Regions from separate parts of the Homo sapiens genome. Here region 1 is linked to region 2. Evidence: promoter capture Hi-C in human tissues and cell types (Jung and others, 2019). All regions are on one chromosome and are shown on one strand. Each heading gives the region's core, a stretch centred on a gene start or on the middle of the fragment in contact. The rest is flanking DNA. Distances are from core to core; before and after follow the strand shown.

Region 1 (3,003 bases), core at 344-2,843, 96 kb after region 2:
AGTTTTCCCAACAACATTTATTGAATAAAGTGTACTTTCCTCATTGTTCATTTTTGTCAACTTTGTTGAAGATGAGCTGGTGTAGGTGTGCAGCTTTATTTCAGGGGTCTCTAAAATGTTTCATTGGTCTATGAGCTTTTGGTTAGTATTCACTTTAAAAGGATCATTTCTGTGGGCTTGACCATAAGAGATAAATTCATTTTTTAAAATTTTTATTTTTTTTCAGTGTAGGATCAAAACTACAATTAGAATATAAGTGTAAGTATTGAAAAGCAATGTAGTTATGTGATTTTCTTTCTAAGAGTTCTAAGATCAAAATATTTATGAAAAACATTTTTGGTGGCTATCATGAGTTTTTAAAGATTAACATAATTTCTGAGAGTAGTTTTGCAGGTAAAATTTAGGTCATTATAAAACATATGAGTTATGCTCTAAAATTAATAGTTATATTTATCAAGTGACTATTCTGTGTCAATTGTTTTACGTACATTACAATGATCTCATTTATTCCTTAGAGACGAAACAAACATTTAAAAGTTGAGTGCAGTGGCTCATGCCTGTAATCCCAGCACTTTGGAAGTAGGTGGATTGCTTGAACTCAGGAGCTCAAGACCAGCATGGGCAACATGATGAAACCCCATCACTACCAAAAATACAAAAAATTAGCCAGGCGTGGTGGCATGTGCCTGTGTTCCCAGCTACTCAGGAGGCTGAGGTGGGAGGATTACTTGAGCCCAGGAGGCGGAGGTTGCAGCGAGCCAAGATTGTGCCACTGCATTTCAGCCTGGGTGACAGAGTGAGACGCCATCTCAAAAAAAAAAAAAAAAAAAAAAAAGATGAGGACCTGGAAGTTTGTAATTTTGTTTAGATTTATTAGGTGGAAGGTGCAGGATTGGAAGCCATGAAAAAATGCTCATCACTGGTCATCATGCCACATTTTAAATGTTGCAAAATCTCTAACCAGAAAGTTATAACCAGAAGTTTATAAAATCTGTCCTCTAACCCCTTAATACCACCTCCCCCAAGTCCTTAAAAACAGTCCAGTCCTCAAAAACCAGATTCTTTCAATTTCTCTGGGGTTAAAATTGCTTTTTTTCTGTAGACAAAGGAAGCAGGATCAGGAGGGAGGACCAGATGAGAAGAGAGTTTGGGCACTTAATTGTTACCACTTTGAGCAACATACTTTGAACTCTCTGAATCCTCAGTTGCTCATCTGTAGAGTGTGTTTAATGGTATGTAGGCTCACGGGATCTGTGGCAAGGCCTAAATGAGGTCTTGGCTTGGTTCCATAAACACATATGGAACCTTTAGCAGACTCCCTGGCATGTAGTAAGTGCTCAATAAATGGCAGTTATTACTACTCTTCAGGGTCTGGGGCTCCTCCTTGAAATAATTTCTAATAATAACAATAATAATCATGGTTAGTATTTACTGAGCACTGACCGTGTACCAGAGGCTCTTCCAAACACTTTTTTTTAAACTAGAAATCAACTTTATTATTTATTTATTTATTTATTTATTATTATTATACTTTAAGTTCTAGGGTACATGTGCACAACGTGCAGGTTTGTTACATATGTATACATGTGCCATGTTGGTTTGCTGCACCCATTAACTCGTCATTTACATTAGGTATTTCTCCTAATGCTATCCCTCCCCTTGCCCCCCACCCCATGACAGGCCCCCATGTGTGATGTTCCCTGCCCTGTGTCCAAGTGTTCTCATTGTTCAATTCCCACCTATGAGTGAGAACATGTGGTGTTTGATTTTCCATCCTTGTGATAGTTTGTTCAGAATGGTGGTTTCCAGCTTCATCCATGTCCCTGCAAAGGACATGAACTCATCCTTTTTTTATGGCTGCGCGTATTCCATGGTGTATATGTGCCACATATTCTTTATCTAGTCTATCATTGATGGACATTTGGGTTGATTCCAAGTTTTTGCTATTGTGAATAGTGCCGCAATAAACATACGTGTGCATGTGTCTTTATAGGATTTTATTTCTCCTTCACTTATGAAGCTTAGTTTGGCTGGATATGAAATTCTGGGTTGAAAATTCTTTTCTTTAAGAATGTTGGATATTGGCCCCCGCTCTCTTCTGGCTTGTAGAGTTTCTGCTGAGAGATCCGCTGTTGGTCTGATGGGCTTCCCTTTGTGGGTAACCCAACCTTTCTCTCTGGCTGCCCTTAACATTTTTTCCTTCATTTCAACCTTGATGAATCTGACAATTATATGTCTTGGGGTTGCTTTTCTCGAGGAGTATCTTTGTGGCGTTCTCTGTATTTCCTGAATCTGAATGTTGGCCTGCCTTGCTAGGTTGGGGAAGTTCTCCTGGATAATATCCTGCAGAGTGTTTTCCAGCTTGGTTCCATTCTCCCCATCACTTTCAGGTATACCAATCAAATGTAGATTTGGTCTTTTCATGTAGTCCCATATTTCTTGGAGGCTTTGTTCATTTCTTTTTACACTTTTTTCTCTAAACTTGTCTCCTCGTTTTATTTCATTCATTTGATCTTCAATCACTGATACCCTTTCTTCCACTTGATCAAATTGGCTATTGAATTTTGTGCATGTGTCACATAGTTCTCGTGCCATGGTTTTCAGCTCCATCAGGTCATTTAAAGTCTTCTCTACACTGTTTATTCTAGTTAGCCATTCGTCTAATCTTTTTTCAAGGTTTTTAGCTTCCTTGCGATGGGTTCGAACATCCTCCTTTAGCTCGGAGAAGTTTGTTATTACCGACTTTCTGAAGCCTACTTCTGTGAACTCATCAAAGTCATTCTCCATCCAGCTTTGTTCCATTGCTGGCAAGGAGATGCAATCCTTTGGAGGAGAAGAGGTGCTCTGGTTTTTAGAATTTTCAGCTTTTCTGCTCTGGTTTCTCCCCATCTTTGTGGTTTTATTTATCTTTGGTCTTTGATGCTGGTGACCTACAGGTGGAGTTTTGGTGTGGATGTCCTTTTTGTTGATGTTGATTCTATTCCTTTCTGTTTGTTAGTTCTC
Region 2 (3,275 bases), core at 594-3,093:
GGCCTATTTCAATTTATCACAGACCTTGATTGGACGCTGATTCAAATAGATTGTTAAAAAAAAGAAAATGAGGGAAGAGAAAAATATATAAGATAAATGGAGTTTTTTTTTTGTTGTTTTTTTTTGAGATCCACCACCTGGGTTCAAGCAATTCTCCTGCCTCAGCCCCCACCAGTAGCTGGAACTACAGGTGCGTGCCACCATGCCTGGCTAATTTTTGTATTTTTAGTACAGACAGGGTTTCTCCATGTTGGCCGGCTGGTCTCAAACTCCTGACATCAGGTAATCCACCTGCCTTGGCCTCCCAAAGTGCTGGGATTACAGGCGTGAGCCACGGTGCCCAGCCAGATAATTGGAGTTTTGAATACTGCTGGATATTTGAACATAACATATATTTGAATACTTTGATAATATTAAATAATGATTTTTTAAATTATGTTTAGATGTAAAAAGGATATCGTAGTTATAATAGGAACGAAGTATTTTTTCCCCCTGGATTTATTTATTTATTTATTGAGACAGCCTCACTGCAGCCTCGGGCTCCTGGGCTGAAGGGATCCTCTGACCTCAGCCCCCTGAGTAGCTAGGACCACAGGCATGTCTCACCACACCCACACGCCCGGTTATTTTATTTTTATTTTCATTTTTATTTTTTTGGTAACAATGAGATCTCACTATCTTGCCGAGGCTGGTCTCATACTCTTGGGCTCAACTGTTCCTGCCACCTCGGCCTCCTGACGTGCTGAGATTACAGGTGTGAGCCATGGCACCGGCCTTTTCCCTGAATTTATGAACGAAATCATAGGCGATCTGGCACTTGTTTCAAAATAACCCATGGAGGAGGAATGGACGGCAATTTAGATGTAACCAGACTGGCTGTAAGTAAATTACTATGACAAAAAGTAGACACACTTTTGTACATGTTTGAACCTTCCCATAATAAAACATTCTCAAAAAGCTGGGGAAAAAACCCCAGGAAAACAAATAAGATTTTTTTTTTTTTTTTTTTGGGGGGACAGAGTCTCTCTCTGTCGCCCAGGCTGGAGTGCAGTGGCGTGATCTTGGCTCACTGCAATCTCCACCTCCTGGGTTCAAGCGATTCTCGTGCCTCAGACTCCCGAGTAGCTAGGGAGTCTGTTCCCTGTTTGTATTGACTACTTCCACGACTGGTAAGCTCTTCCTCAAAAAGTGTAATCTTCTCTAAAGTTTCCCTAAGCTATTCCAATATAGATTCTTCCCATAGATTTTCATAGATTTTCTTACTTTTTTTTTTTTTTTGAGACGGAGTTTCGCTCTTGTTGCCCAGGCTGGAGTGCAATGGCGCAATCTCGGCTCACCGCAACCTCCGCCTCCCGGGTTCAAGCGATTGTTCTGCCTCAGTCTCCCTAGTAGCTCGGATTACAGGCATGTGCCACCATGCCCGGCGAATTTTTGTATTTTTAGTAGAGACGGGGTTTCGCCATGTTAGCCAGACTGGTCTTGAACTCCTGACCTCAGGTGATCCGCCCGCCTCCGCCTCCCAAAGTGCTGGGATTACAGACGTGAGCCACCGCGCCCGGCCTAAAATGATTATATTGTAAAAAATGCAATGAAGAAAAGAAAACATGGTAATGAAATGGTCTTCCCACTCGAAATCCTGTCCCTACCTAAGGCATTAGGATCAACTCAGGCCATTAGGTCAGCTTTCCTCTAAATTGCCCATTCAAAGCACCAGGGGCCACACCCAACCGGGTAGGCGGAGTGCTTTCCTGGCTGCATCTTAGAGGGCTGCATTCAGGTTCCACCCTGGAAGGGAGGAGCCGGAATTCCGATCATTATCTGCCGCGGACTGCCTGTCTCCAAAGCCCTTTGTTTATGGCCTGATCTAGCTAAGGCTTCTAGACTTCAGGAGCTTAAGAATCGTCCGGAGGGCTGGGCGTGGCGGTGCAGGCCTGTAGTCCCACCCACTCCGAAGGCTGCGGAGGGAGGATCAACTTGAGTCTGGGAACTCAGCCAGGAATTCAAGACCAGCCTGGGCAACACAGTGAGGCCCCCTACCCACATCCTCTCCGTCCCCGCAATCTCCTTCCATCCCAGGTCTCCTCTCTACAAAAAATTTAAATATTAGCGGGGCGTGGTGGCGCGGGCCTGTAATCCCAACTACTGGAGTGTGGGGGGAGGGGCGGGGGTGGGACGGCATGGGCTGTAGTGGGAAGATCGCTTGAGTCCAGGAGGTCGAGGCTGCAGTGAGCTATGATCGCGCCACCGCACTCCAGCCTGGGCGTCAGAGCCTGTCTAAAAAAAGAAAAAAAGAAAAAATTACCTGGAGGGCTTGTGGAAGCACAGATTCCTCAGCCCCTCAGCCTCACCCTCCATGATCTGATTCAGGATGTCTTGGGTGGTGGGGTGGGGCCTCATAATTTATTTTTCCAATCAGTTCCTCAGTAAACTGAAGCTGAGCTTTTTCAGACTACATTTTTTTCTTTTGTAAATTTATTTATTTATTTATTTATTCATAGAGATGAGGTCTCACTATATTGCCCAGGCTGGTCTCGAACTTCTGGACTCAAGTGGTCGTCCTTCCTCGGCCTCCCAAAGGCCTCCCAAAGGATTACAGACATGAGCCACCGTGCCAGGTCCAGACAATATTTTGAATGTGTTAAATACACTAGTAACTTAAATGGACCATGGTCACCCTGGGTCCTGAGATTAATGGACCAAATCATTTTCCCAGGGACAGAAAAAGCCCATTGTAAAGGTACTTGGTTGTCCAGTGCTGCCATATTATTGGTGAATGAAATTTCCTTTAGTTGCTCTGGCTTCTTAGAGTGACCTATGAGAACACCTGCTTCATATTTTGCCACATTCCGTGTCCAACATTAGGCTCCAGCAATTCCTAAGTGCATCGTTCCTTCTGCCTTCGTTACTCCACCACTTGCCTTGGTGTTTTGGCTCTTGTTGCTATTCTGAACAGCCAAATCCTTCTCCTCCAACCAGCTCAATATTATTGCAGGCTTAATATTTGTATTTAGAACTAGATCGAAGAGAGATTATGTTATCCAACCCCCACAATTTAAATCTGGAATCTTTCAGTGAGTAACATACCCCCGTGCATAAATCAGGTATAAAATACCTGCGTAAAATGCTCTGAATCTTTTTTCCATTCCCTTCGTAATAAGTAATTTGTTACCAATATCGTCTTATAACTGTTCTAAAACATTCTGTTCATTCCATTGGAACTTGTCAACAAGTGTTTGTCATTTTCAGTTTTCTTTCAAGTTTCACCTATTTTTTTT

What was found. Contacts are between HindIII fragments. The study calls those that stand out against the background at their distance.
Region 1: a fragment that was not itself captured here is called in contact with the fragment with the promoter of DPPA2 in region 2 in 3 of the 25 tissues and cell types used here (adrenal gland, aorta and small bowel).

Annotation. Positions count from the first base shown.
Region 1 is chr3:109,219,501-109,222,503 of GRCh38, reverse strand. No RefSeq gene overlaps it. Among named protein-coding and RNA genes, the nearest start is that of LINC00488, 43 kb to the right of the region's middle. The HindIII fragment of the contact is 7,551 bases long and covers 1-3,003 here.
Region 2 is chr3:109,315,085-109,318,359 of GRCh38, reverse strand. DPPA2 (developmental pluripotency associated 2) reads left to right here and starts at 1,843. Exons shown (of 9, transcript NM_138815.4): 1 at 1,843-2,076. The HindIII fragment of the contact is 15,346 bases long and covers 1-3,275 here.